Linked DNA regions of Homo sapiens: all the other regions are linked to region 3. Evidence: promoter capture Hi-C in 16 types of primary human blood cells and fetal thymus (Javierre and others, 2016). All regions are on one chromosome and are shown on one strand. The core of a region is centred on a gene start or on the middle of the fragment in contact, and the rest is flanking DNA. Distances in the headings are between cores, read along the strand shown. Region 1 holds the start of ZNF626 (zinc finger protein 626). Region 2 overlaps LOC105372310 (a long non-coding RNA gene). Region 3 holds the start of ATP13A1 (ATPase 13A1).

Evidence for each region. The method cuts DNA at HindIII sites, captures the fragments that hold promoters and counts their contacts. A CHiCAGO score of 5 or more calls a contact.
Region 1: a fragment that was not itself captured here is called in contact with the fragment with the promoter of ATP13A1 in region 3 in 1 of 17 cell types (total CD8 T cells); the score reaches 6.5 in total CD8 T cells.
Region 2: a contact is called between a fragment that was not itself captured here and the fragment with the promoter of ATP13A1 in region 3, in 2 of 17 cell types (total CD8 T cells and fetal thymus). The highest score is 5.5, in total CD8 T cells.

Annotation. Positions count from the first base shown.
Region 1 is chr19:20,657,389-20,661,815 of GRCh38, reverse strand. It overlaps ZNF626 (zinc finger protein 626), which reads left to right and starts at 245. Exons shown (of 4, transcript NM_001076675.3): 1 at 245-372. The coding sequence starts at 370. RefSeq lists a silencer at 51-120. The HindIII fragment of the contact is 495 bases long and covers 1,003-1,497 here.
Region 2 is chr19:20,239,056-20,243,490 of GRCh38, reverse strand. It overlaps LOC105372310 (a long non-coding RNA gene), which reads left to right. Exons shown (of 7, transcript XR_007067164.1): 2 at 2,854-2,991; 3 at 3,701-4,435. Among named protein-coding and RNA genes, the nearest start is that of ZNF486, 74 kb to the right of the region's middle. RefSeq lists an enhancer at 4,266-4,435. The HindIII fragment of the contact is 325 bases long and covers 2,827-3,151 here.
Region 3 is chr19:19,662,359-19,667,018 of GRCh38, reverse strand. It overlaps ATP13A1 (ATPase 13A1), which reads left to right and starts at 3,343. Exons shown (of 26, transcript NM_020410.3): 1 at 3,343-3,748. The coding sequence starts at 3,353. RefSeq lists silencers at 2,857-2,906, 3,347-3,606 and enhancers at 3,007-3,296, 3,640-3,741, 3,013-3,995, 4,127-4,176. The HindIII fragment of the contact is 4,289 bases long and covers 1-4,194 here.

The sequences.
Region 1 (4,427 bases), core at 1-2,500, 1.0 Mb before region 3:
AATTCTCCCATGCTCTGGGGTGGGCCTGGCTCAGCTCAGGAAGGAAGCCCTGCCTGAAAAGGCTGCAGCTTAGGCTGTCACTCTTTCTTCACTCAGCTCAGCGTCTGATCACATCTACTGTCACTCAGGGCCTCAGGGGGCGGGGCCTTAAGCATTATCCAATCAGGGATGGTGGGCTGGAAACCATCCAATCAGGAACGCAGCTGGAGCGAAGAGGACGGTTTCCGGGTTTGGTGCGGCCTTTGTCTCTCGCTGCAGTCAGAGCTCCAGGTCTGGTTCTTCTCCTAAAGGCCCAGGCTGTGTGGCCCCGTGTCCTGCAGGTATTGGGAGATCCACAGCTAAGACACCGGGACCTCCTGGAAGCCAAAAATGGTGAGAGTGAGGGTCCGACATCCCGAGAGAGGAGAGGGACTGGTTGGAACCGGTGAAAAGTGGCTGTGGCGGGACTCAGGCCTCCCCGCAGTCAGCTCCACAGTCTGCTCCCCCAGTTCTCCTTGCTCAGCTCGGCCTCAGTCCTGTTCAGCCATAAAATGGCAGCTGCGCTGACAGCCGGCACCCGGGCGTCTTGTCTCTTCACTGCGCGGTGACTACCCTGGCCTGGAGCCCTCTCTGGGCAGCTCTGCACCCGCAGCGTGGCGTCTCTCCCAGATTGTGCAGGGACCAGGGGAGGGTGGGCAGGGGAGAATCCTGACTCGGGGTGCGGGTTCATGAATGGGAAGAGCTTTGTTCCTTTGGGTTTACAGTTTCTCTTTTCTCCTATTAAAAATGTATGGGGCCGGACGCTGTGGCTCACGCCTGTAATCCCAACGTTTTGGGAGGCCGAGGCGGGCGGATCACTTGAGGTAAAGAGGTGTTAGGACAACTAAGTTCCTTTTAAATGACTCAACTTTCTGGTCATAAGTTGTAAAAGTTGTAAATCAACCCTACCTCTTCTTCTACCCCCTTTTCCTTTTCTCGCAAATCGCGCATTTACTTTATTTGGAAAAAGTTTGGGTCTAAGCTTACCAGGATCAGCTTAGATTGTGCGGTCTGATCCCAGCCAATAGGGGATGGAAACAAAAACAGGAACTGCATTAGGGTTCAAAACCCCTTTCTTGCTGGGCGCGGTGGCTCAAGCCTGTAATCCCAGCACTTCGGAGGCCGAGGCAGGTGGATCACGTGGTCAGGAGTTCTAGACCAGCCTGGCCAACGTGGTGAAACCCGTCTCTACTAAAAATACGAAAACTATCGGCGTGTTGGCACGTGCCTGTAGTACCAGCCACTTGGGAGGCTGAGGCACGAGAATTGCTTGAACCCGGGAGGCGGAAGTTGCAGTGAGCTGAGATCCAATCATCGCGCTCCAGCCTGCGTGACAAAGCGAGACTCCGGCTCAAAAAAAAGAAAAAAAAAGTAAGCATCTTAAAAATTCCTTTATGTAAACATTGTGAGTAATTTCACTGGAGTTTCTAACACTTAGTTTCAAAAACCAAGTGAATAACTGATGTGGACATTAAAGCTTGAACCTAGTGACTCCAAGCTAAGGCTAATATTAAGCCTGCAACAGGGTATTTTTTTTTTTTTTTTTTTTTTTTTAGACACAGTGTCGCTTGTGGTGCCCAGGCTGGAATGTAATGGCGTGATCTCGGCTTACTGGGTTCAAGCGATTCTCCTACCTCAGCCCCACCAGTAGCTGGGATTACAGGCATGCACCATCACGCCCGGCTAATTTTGGTGTTTAGTAGAGACGGGTTTTCTCCATGTTTGTCAGGCTGGTCTTGAACTCTCTGCCTCAGACCCGCTTCGGCCTCCCAAAGTGCTGGCATTATCGGTGTGAGCCACCGCACCCGGCCAACAGGAGGTTATTAAAGGCCCTGTTATTTTTTTCTGGGGAGTCTCCCTTGCGGATATCTCAAGACTGCTCACCCCAGCCACGGAAGGAGCCTTCATTCTGAAAGAAGCTACAAAGCCTTGGAAAGCTGGGGCCCCACAGGCAGATGCAGTCAAGATTAAGATGAAAGGAAACTGGGAGGGTCTTACTGGTAATGAAGTTGTTATGGTTTTGAGGCACTTTTTACGCTTTCTAAAATAAGAATATTAGATTTATGTAAAAAAAAAATGAATTCCTAAGAAGTATTGCAACAGGAAGAAGTACCAGCTAACTAAAAAATCTTCATGGGTTGCAAAAATGTAGGCAGAAAAGGGCTTTTCTCCTACATTGGAGATGGCTTATCTCCATCCCTCACTAGCCTGAGGGATGGAGATAAACTTAAGTAAAGTTTGATTAAGAAATATTTTAGGCTGAGCGCCATGGCTCAGGCATGTAATCCCAGCAGTTTGGGAGGCCTAGGCGGACGGATCACCGCAAGTCAGGAGCTTGAGACCAGCCTGGTCAACATGGTGATAACCCTGTGTCTACTAAAAATACAAAAATTAGCTGGTAGTTGTGGTGGCCACCTGTAATGCCAGCTACTTGGGAGGCTGAGGCAGGAGAATTGCTTGAACCATGGAGACAGAGGTTGCAGTGAGCTGAGACGGTGCCAAGGCACTCCAGCCTGGGTGGCCGAGCGAGACTCCATCTCAAAAAAAAAAAATTATTTTGACCACTGAAGACAAATTCAGCTGAATTTCTTAATGAGAAAAAGGAGAAAATGTACAGAGTGTGTGTCTGGCTGTGTGATAGGTAAGAAAAGAGAGCACCATCTAAGTCATAATGAGAAAGGCGTTTCTTTCCGTATACTGTTCCTGGAGCACACAAAAGGTGGAGAATTTTATTAATCACAAATATTTTCCAGGATTTTCTATGTGTTTCATCTTTCCCCATCTCTTTGTTCTATGCATTTCTTCCATTTGGCTTTTCCTGGGCTGCATCTTTTATATGAAACCGGTAAACATAACTACAATGTTTTGCTGAGTTCTGTAAGTAGCTGTACCAAATTATTGAACTTCAGGGAGGTTTTGGGAGTCCTCAGTTTTCAAACAGTAGCTCAGAAGCATAGATGGGCCTATGGGGTTTTTGATTGGCCTCTGCAGTGAGGACAATGTTGTGGGACCCAGCCCTGGATCAGGGTCTGTGCTGTCTCTAGGTGGTGTCAGAATTCAATTATTAGGCAATGAGTTGGTGTTGGAGAATTGTTTGATATTCAGCAAACTCTATAGATTTGGTGCCAGAAAAAAGATATCACTGGGGCCAGACCTGGAACAAAGCTCTGGGTATTTGAAAATGGGAGGCTCTGCTCTCCTGTACACAGGCTGTCACACTGCCTGTTGTCCTGTGATTTAAGGTCTTCTTCCAGGGTGACAGAAGACTGAAAACTTAGAGGAAAGAGTTCTGATGACAGACCCTGTTTTCTTGTAGCTGCCACCACAGGATTCCCACCCACTCCTAAACACACACAGTAGACATTGACATGTCCTCACTCCTCCCAGTACTGGGCACCACCCTCAGGAACTTCACCATGGCATTTTTGATCCTAGCGTTTCTTGCCAAGAACCCAAAAGTCTCTACAGGTCTCCTGGCATATCCCCACCCCTAGATACAGAATCTGCCGCACCAACCTGTTTTTTCCACCAACCTAAGGTTCTGGACCTCCCGGTTATAATCTCATCTGTCTGCATGCAAACAAAGATAAATCAGAAAACAGCCCCACCTGGGCCACTATCTGTAATGAAAATCAGTCCATTCACCTACATTGCACTCTCTCCCACGCAGGGATTTTTTTTTTTTCTTTTTTTAGCTTTGATTTTTGGTTGGGTGTACACATGTGGGTTTGTTATACAACTAAAATTACGTCATGGGGGTTTGAAGTGCAGATTATTTTGTCACTGAGGTACTAAGCATACCACCGAACAGGTATGTTTTCTGATCCTCTTACTGCTCCCACCCTCCCCCCTCAACTAGGCCTCAGTGTCTGTTCTGTTTGTGTTCATGTGTTCTTATTACTTAGCTCTTACTTATAAATAATAACATGCATTTGGTTTTCTGTTTCTGCATTAATTTTCTTTTTTTTGTTTGTTTTTTGTTTTGTTTTTTTGAGATGGATTTTTGTTCTTGTTGCCCAGGCTGGAGTGCAATTGTGCCACCTCGGCTCACCGCAACCTTCGCCTCCTGGATTCAAGCAATTCTCCTGCCTCAGCCTCCTATGTAGCTGGGATTAGAGTCGCATGCCACCACACCTAGCTAATTTTGTATTTTTAGTAGAGAGGGGTTTCTCCATGTTGGTCAGGCTGGTCTTAAACTCCTGAACTCAGGTGATTATCCCACCTCGGCCTCCCAAAGTACTGGGATTACAGGCGTGAGCCACCATGCCTGGACTCCGCATTAGTTTTCTAAGAATAATTGTCTCCAGCTTCATCAGTGTTATTGCAAAGGACATGGTCATTTTTTTTTAATGGCCACAGAGTATTCCATGATGTTTATGTACCATATTTTGTATTTACTAAATCTTTTA
Region 2 (4,435 bases), core at 1,740-4,239, 580 kb before region 3:
CTAAACTCAAGGACATTTTTTGGTTAATTACTACATTAGGGGTAGGGCCGGGTGTGGCGGCTCATGCCTGTAATCCTAGCATTTTGGGAGGCCGAGGCAGGTGAATCACGAGGTCAGAAGATCAAGACCATCCTGGCTAACATGGTGAAACCCCATCTCTACTAAAAATACACACAAAAAATTAGCCGGGCATGGTGGCATGCACCTGTAGTTCCAGCTACTTGGGAGGCTGAGGCAGGAGAATCACTTGAACCTGGGAGGCGGAGGTTGCAGTGAGCCGAGATCATGCCATTGCACTCCAGCCTGGGCTATACAGTGAGACTCCGTCTCAAAAAAAAAAAAAGTTTTACATTAGGGGAAACAAAATTCAGGCTTAAGCAACTATAAACTGTCAATTAAGCTCTGATTACATAACCAGGAAATTTCCACCTTAATTGAACAAATTAAGAACCTACATAACCATACCTGAGCAATTATTGAATATAGTTTTCTTCATCATGCACCCTATAAATGTCTTTCCTTCAAGCTCCTCCCATGGACCACAAACTACAAACTATAGCTGGGTGCTCGACAATTCTTGAATCACTGTTTGATTAAATTATTTCCATTTTGGCAGAGACACTCATACTTTTTTTTGTTTTTTTGTTTGTTTTTTTGTTTTTAGACAGAGTCTTGCTCTGTCGCCCAGGCTGGAGTACAGTGGCATGATCTCAGCTCACTGCAACCTCCACTCCTGGGTTCAAGTTATTCTCTCACTTCTACCTCCTGAGTAGCCTGGACTAGAGACATTCACCATCACACCCAACTAATTTTTGTATTTTTAGTAGAGATGGGGTTTCCCCATTTTGGCCAGGTTTGTCTTAAACTCCTGACCTCAAGTGATCCACCTGCCTAGACCACCTAAAGTGCTGGGATTACAGGTGTGAGCCACTGCACCTGGCCCCATAAATTTTTTTTGTTTGTTTTTGAGATGGAGTTTTTCTCTGTTGCCCAGGCTGGAGTGCAGTGGCACGATCTTGGCTCACTGCAACCTCCACCTCCCAGGTTCAAGCAATTCTCCTGCCTCAGCCTCCTGAGTAGCTGGGATTACAGGCACACGCCACAATGCCCAGCTAATTTTTTTGTATTTTTTTAGTAGAGATGGGGCTTCACCATATTGTCCAGGCTGGTCTTGAACTTCTGACCTCAAGTGATCTGCCCACCTCAGCCTCCCAAAGTGCTGGGATTACAGGCATGAGTCACCATGCCCAGCCGCTGGCCTCATAAATTTATAATAGGAGAAAAGAGAAATTGTAAACCCTGTGAGATATAATAGATCTCATCCTCCCAAGTAGCTGGGATTACAGGCATGTGGCACCATGCCTGGTTAATTTTTTGTATTTTTAGTAAAGACAGGGTTTCTCCATGTTGGTCAGCCTGGACTCGAACTACCGACCTCAGGTGATCCACCCACCTCGGCCTCCCAAACTCCTGGGATTAAAGGCGTGAACCGCTGGGCCTGGCCTAGCTGCAGCCTTTTCAAACAGGGCTTCCTACCTGAGCTGAGCCAGGCCCATTCCAGAGCATGGGAAAATTCTATCTCTTTTCATTGTCTCTCTTTTTGAATGTATTCAAAAGATGAACGGAAGTATTGTGCTGTCATATTAATAATACATAAAATTTTTGTTCAAGAGAAAATCAACTTTTACTTGTTAATAGTGTATTATCAACACTAAAGCCAATTTTAATAAAACCTTATAAAGCTGGTGCAGTGGCTCACACCTATAATCCTGGCCCTTTGGAAGGCTGAGGCGGTCGGATCAGGAGTTCAGGAAATCGAGACCATCCTGGCTAATACAGTGAAACCCCGTCTCTACTAAACATAAAAAAAATTAGCCGGGCCTCCTGGTATGAGCCTGTGGTCCCAGCTACTAGGGAAGCTGAGGCAAGAGAATCGCTTGAACCCGTGAGGTGGAGGTTGCGGTGAGCCAAGATCGCACCGCTGCACTCCATCGTGGGCAACAGAGCAATATTTTGTCTCAAAAAATAAAAATATAAATAAATAAATAAATACAACCTTGTAAATAAACAAAATTTGTCATTTTTGACCTCTCAAGATATACATGTATATTTTGTAATCTCTTGTAATTTTTTGAACTTTTTATATTTTATTTTTATCTGCATTCTTTTTATTTTTTCAATTTGAAACCACCTTTAAGTAATTTCACATTGTTATAGGAAACAAAAAGATATCATTTAGTGATAACCTCAGTGGCTCACGCCTGTAATCCCAGAACTTTGGGAGGCCTAGGTGGGTGGATCACTTGAGGTCAGGAGTTCAAGACTAGCCTGGCCAACATGGTGAAACTCCATCTCTACTAAAAATACAAAAAATTAGCAGGTTGTGGTGGTGCACTTTTGTAGTGCCAGCTACTCTGGAGACCGAAACAGAAGAATCGCTTGAACCCAGGAGGTGGAGGTTGTGTAAGGCCCAAGAGGTTCACCTTGCCCTTTGCCTAGACAGAGCTGATTCATCAAGACAGGCGAATTTGTGGAGGAAAAGTTAAATAATAAATTTGAACTCAATTGAACGTGGACACAAACAATGGTCACCGAGTCCCAGAACAGGTTGTGTGAGCCCCTTCAAGCGTTCATTCAGTGCTGTTTTGGAGAAATCTCTATTTCAATCTATTCCTATGCATTAGTTATTGAAAAACAATAGGCAATCGCAAAAACAAGTTGACATTTTTATGTTCCTCGTGCCGGGTCATGAAAGGCCCTCGTGACTAGGCCTCATGCGAAACAACTAGTTACAAAAGAGCTAGGATACCAGACTGGGCTGAAGCTTCATGAGACCTCTTCTCATCTGTGCAGGAATGAGCGGCCGACTCTGGAGCCCAAGCTGTTGCTTCCCATCTGGTGGTGAGGCCTCCACTGTCTGGTGAGTGCAATGTCCGATGCTAGAGCCCAGGCTGTTGCTTCCCACTCTGGTAGTGAATCCTCCATAGTCTGGTGAGTGTAAATATATATATATTTTTTCCTTTCTCCTCTTCCCATTGCAATTTGCTTATTATATCAATCTACTTGTTATATCAATCTGCTTATTATATTGATTTGCTTATTACATAATTTGCTTATTATATCTGCATTGCTATTTACGTGGAATGAAGCTTGTTTACCCTTAAAGGTATTGTGTGTGTGTCTTTCCTTCTCCCCCTCGTGCGTTTCCCGCACAGAACACTTTTGGTGTCACAAACAGGATTCAAAAACAAAAGTGTGCCACTTTTTAGCAACAAGGGCAGGGCGGGAGGCTCGAGGACTTCCCATATCCCCGGATGGAAACTCCCCCAGTTCTCTCCCTTGGCAATTGAATGGTCAAGGGGAACCGGACTTTGTAAGAATTGGGAATCTAAATTAGTGCAATTTAGACCTTTGTGCGTGAAGTGCTGCAGGGAATTCCAGTCAGCAAAGGAGACGCTGAGGGGATCTCCCAGAGTGGATGGTGTTTCCTTACTGCTTATAAGATAATGTGTCAAGATAGGGGCTGGTTGCATCCTATGAAATGCAGGGAAATAATTCATTTTACCAAAGGCTAAGCCTAAAATACTAGAATTTGCAACCCCTACCACTAAAAATGAGGCTCAGAAATTTATTGGCTTGTTTGGATTCTGGAGACATCATATTCCCCACTTGGGTAACATGTTACAACCTCTGCATGCAGCCACCAGAAAACGCTATGACTTTGGGGAGAGAAAGAGATCATGGCTTCCGAACAAGATAAACAAGCAGTGCAACTGGCCCTGGATCTATGACCCATTTGGGATGGTCCCGTAGAACTGCAAGTAACTGTCCTAGATCAACATGCTAATTGGAGCCTTAGGCAGAAACAAGATGGGAAGAGGTACATTTCTGGTTTTGGACCCAGAAACTGCCAGAGGCCAGCAAAGCTTATAACCCTTTCGAGGAGCAATTGTTAGCTTGCTATTGGGCTTTGCTGGAAACGAAACACCTCTGCTTCAACCATGATGTCTTTATGAGGCTTGAAATTCCTATTATGACTTGGGTCATGAGTTCCCCCGAAACTCACCAGATAGGGCACGCCAAGGGGGAGAACTGGGGGAGTTTCCATTCCGGGATTTGGGACGTCCCCAAGTTTCCAGCCTTGGGCTCCAGAGTCAGACACCGCACTCTCCAGGCTGGAAGATTCTCCACCAGGCCAGGAAGCAACAGCATGGGTTCCAGAGTGGGACACCCGCACTCACCAGACTATGAAGGACTCACCACCAGACCAAGAAGCAACAGCCTGAGCTCCAGAGTCAGACACCACCCTCATCAGACTGTGGAGGATTCACCACCAGACAGGGAAGCAACAGCCTGGGCTCCAGAGTTGGCCACTCGTCCGTGCACAGACGAGGAGAGGTCTCATGAAGCTTCGGTGCAGTCTGGGACCACAGCT
Region 3 (4,660 bases), core at 2,094-4,593:
TTTACTGAAGATTATCTTATTTGATACTATGTGATTATTAAGTCCTATTACATTTCCTTTCTCCTTTTACGAAGTCATGTATCTTAATAATATGCAGCCGGGCACGGTGGCTCAGCCTGTAATCCCAGCACTCTGGGAGGCCCAGGCAGGCGGATCATGAGGTCAGGAGTAGGAGACCAGCCTGCCCAACATGGTGAAACACCGTCTCTACTAAAATTACAAAAATTAGCCAGGTGTGGTGGCGCATGCCTGTAATCCTAGCTACTAAGAAGGCTGAGGCAGGAGAACTGCTTGAACCCAGGAGGAGGAGGTTGCAGTGAGCCGAGATCACAGCATTGCGCCTGGGCGACAGAGCATGACTCCATCTCAAAAAAAAAAAAAAAAAAAAAAAAAAAAAAAAAAAAAAAAAAACCAGAGCCGGGCCCGGTGGCTCACGCCTGTAATCCCAGCACTTTGGGAGTCCGAGGCGGGTGGATTACGAGGTCAGGAGTTCAAGACTCAGCCTGGCCAAGAAGGTGAAACCCCGTCTCTACTAAAAATACAAAAAATTAGCTGGGTGCAGTGGCAGGCGCCTGTAATCCCAGCTACTCGGGAGGCTGAGGCAGGAGAATCGCTTGAACTCCGAGGGCAGAGGTTGCAGTGAGCTGAGATCACGCCACTGCACTCCAGCCTCCAGCCTGACAACAGAGTGAGACTCCGTCTCAAAAAAAAAAAAAAAAAAAAAAACCAGAATATGCAGTGGGTGGCCGCAGCGGGTCACACCTGTAGCACTTTGGGAAGTCGAGGCAGGCAGATCTCTTGAGGCCAGGACAGGAGTTCCAGACCAGCCTGGCCAACATGGTGAAACCCTGTCTCTCCTAAAAATACAAAAATTAGCAGGCATGGTGGTTCATGCCTGTAATTCCAGCTACTAAGGAGGCTGAGGCAGGAGAATCATTTGAACCCAAGAGGCAGAGGTTGCAGTGAGCCTAGATTGCAACACTGCACTCCAGCTTGGGCAAGAGTGAGACTCCGTCCCAAGAAAACAAAACAAGACTAGGACTGGGCACCGTGGCTCACACCTGTAATCCTAGCACTTTGGGAGACTGAGGCGGCCAGATCATTAGAGGCCATGAGTTTGAGACCAGACTGGCCAACATGGCGAAACCCGTCTCTACTAAAAACACAAAACATTAGACTGGGAGCGCTGGCTCACACCTGTAATCCTAGCACTTTGGGAGACCAAAGTGGGCGGATCACAAGGTCAGGAGTTCGAGACCAACCTGGCCAACATAGTGAAACCCCATCTCTACTGAAAATACAAAAAATTAGCCAGGCATGGTGGCACGCGCCTGTAGTCCCAGCTACCCGGGAGGCTGAGGCAGGAGAACCGCTGGAACCCAGGAGGCGTAGGTTGCAGTGAGCTGAGATCGCACCACCGCACTCCAGCCTGGGCAACAGAGTGAGACTCCGTCTAAAAAAAAAAGTACAAAAATTAGCCGGAGCGGTGGCATGCGCCTGTAATCCCAGTTACTTGGGAGGCTGAAATGGGAGAATCGATTGAACTCGGAAAGTGGAGTTTGCAGTGAGCGGACATCGCGCCACTGCACTCCAGCCTGGGCGACAGAGTGAGACTTCATCTCGAAAAATTAAAAAAAGAATATGCAACAATATAAGCTACAAAATTTAAATATCCAATAAATTTTAAGTTTAAATAAATTTGCTGTATCAGAGGACAAAAAGAAACATAAAATAGTTACTGTTTGTCACACATACTGTTTAATCCTACTAATTGGTACTGTTAAGTAGTCCTATTGTGGTTTTGTTCAAATAGCATTTATGCAACAGTACAGTTAATAATATAGAACTATATAATTTCTTTTTTTTTTTTTTTTCAGACAGAGTCTCGCTCTGTCGCCCAGGCTGGAGTGCAGTGGCGCGATCTCGGCTCACTGCAAGCTCCGCCTCCCAGGTTCAGGCCATTCTCCTGCCTCAGCCTCCCGAGTAGCTGGGACTACAGGCGCCTGCAACCACGCCCGGCTAATTTTTTGTATTTTTAGTAGAGACGGGGTTTCACTGTGTTAGCCAGGACGGTCTCGATCTCCTGAACTCGTGATCCGCCCGCCTCGGCCTCCCAAAGTGCTGGAATTACAGGGGTGAGCCACCGCGCCCGGCCTAGAAGTATATAATTTCAAGTAAACACCAGTTTTTCATTTTTTATGTTAAAGTGGTAATTTCTTTTTTTTTTTTTTTTTTTTTTTGGAGACAGAGTCTCGCTCTGTCGCCCAGGCTGGAGGGCAGTGGCACAATCTCCGCTCACTGCAAGCTCTGCCTCTCCAGTTCGCGCCATTCTGCCTCAGGCTCCGGAGTAGCTGGGACTACAGGCGCCCGCCACCACGCCCGGAGAATTTTTTTTTTTTTTTTGTATTTTTAGTGGAGACGGGGTTTCACCGCGTTAGCCAGGATGGTCTCGATCTCCTGACCTCGGCCTCCCAAAGTGCTGGGATTACAGGCGTGAGCCACCGCGCCCGGCCTAAAGTGGTTTTTGTAATTCATTTTTCTTTTTTTTTTTTTTGAGACAGTCTTGCTCTGTTGGCCAGGCTGAAGTGCAGTGGAGCAATCTTGGCTCACTGCAACCTCCGTCTCCCGGGCTCAAGCAATTCTCCTGCCTCATCCTCCCGAGTAGCTGGGATTACAGGCATGTGCCACCACGCCCGGCTAATTTTTGTATTTTTAGTAGAGACGTGGTTTCACCATGTTGGGTCTTGAACTCCTGATCTCAGGTGATCCACCCGCCTCGCCTCCCAAAGTGTTGGGATTACAGGCGTGAGCCACCGCGCCCGGCTAGTATTTGTAATTCTTATCTATCACATTAAGGCTCTTGTCCGGTGTGGTTGTGTTCCGGGGCGGTCCCCGACCCCGCCCCTCACAAGCCCCGCCCCCCGCACCGGGCCCCGCCTCCTGAACTCCGAAGCTCCCGACCCCGCCTCCGCAGGGTCCAGGCTTCGCCCCTGGTGACAGGTGGTGCTGGTGTAGTCAAGGAGGAGGGCTCGCTTTTTTTGGTTCAGGTTGTCATGGTGGCGCCCAAGCCCGCCTTGCCGGCCTTGTCTTTTCCGGTCTCAGTCCGGCGTGGCAGCGGAGGCAGGCACCGTTAGGTCTTCCAGTCCCTCTCTGTCATGGCGACGCCCAGCCTCTTCTTCCGGCCACAGCCTGTCATGGCGGCACCCGAAGTAGTCCCTGCCGGGGCCAGCCTGTTCTGTTGCCCTGGCTCTTCCTAGTCCAGGCTGCCATGGCGGCGCTCAGGGCTTACCGGAAGTAAAACTTCGGAAGTGAGGCGTTCCTCTGCCCGGAAGTGAGCGCGGCGCTAGGAAAGATGGCGGCAGCGGCGGCGGTGGGCAACGCGGTGCCCTGCGGGGCCCGGCCTTGCGGGGTCCGGCCTGACGGGCAGCCCAAGCCCGGGCCGCAGCCGCGCGCGCTCCTTGCCGCCGGGCCGGCGCTCATAGCGAACGGTGACGAGCTGGTGGCTGCCGTGTGGCCGTACCGGCGGTTGGCGCTGTTGCGGCGCCTCACGGTGCTGCCATTCGCCGGGCTGCTTTACCCGGCCTGGTTGGGTGCCGCAGCCGCTGGCTGCTGGGGCTGGGGCAGCAGTTGGGTGCAGATCCCCGAAGCTGCGCTGCTCGTGCTTGCCACCATCTGCCTCGCGCACGCGCTCACTGTCCTCTCGGGGCATTGGTCTGTGCACGCGCATTGCGCGCTCACCTGCACCCCGGTAAGTGTGTACACGCGAGCCCGACCCCCAGCACGGTCGAGCCTCGCCGTGGGTCCCAGCTGCGGCCTTCCTGTCGGTCACCATCGCGACCTGGGCCACTCATCTGCCTGGCCTGGATTCCCAGGGGCACCCTCTACACTTTGGCGCAGGCTTAATCATGACCCCACTGCTGACTTGCTGTGCATGCCTGGTGCGGGTTATTTCCTTTTTCTGAAGTCCTCCCTGTTATGGTCATTTAGATTCAGTGATGTAATACTTGTAAAAGGCTTAGCGCAGGGCCCAGCATACGTCGCCCAGGTCAGGTAGGAGTTGTTTATACTAGTTCCCATATTAGCGACTACTCTTGTTCTGGAAACGGCCCTACCTTCCATCTCATCTGTCTCCTACCTTGGTTTTCAAAGTGTAAGGCGAGATCACTGGGATAGGTTTCCCCCATCTATGAAGCTTAGTTGGTTCTTAGACTGAACCAAGTCTTGCTGTCCAGTGCTTAGTGGTCTTCCATACTGTGATGGAAAGGAGCATGAAATGCAGTTAATTACAGTGTTGAAGAGAGGCAGAGGTGTTTATGAGCGAGTCATTTACATGATGTCTTTCCGCAAAATGAGGGTGGTGATACTGAGTTCTGTCGGGGATACAACAGCAAGCAAGGTCGCGCTCCTGACCCACAGTTTAGAGTTCTGAGTGACCAAGTGTCGTCGGAGGAGTTGGTGACTGTGAGCTTCCCTGGGCCTGAAGCAGTGACTGTGTCGTCTCTCTCTGGGCCTGCCTCAGGTGACACCAGCAGGTTTGGAGCCATGGACACTGAGGTATATCAGGAAGCTTCCCCTCTGATTCCAGGAGTGTGTTTGCCTCAAGAAGAGGAAAAGGGAACAGCATCAAGGGCTACAGAAAGACAGAAGCCCCCCACCCTGG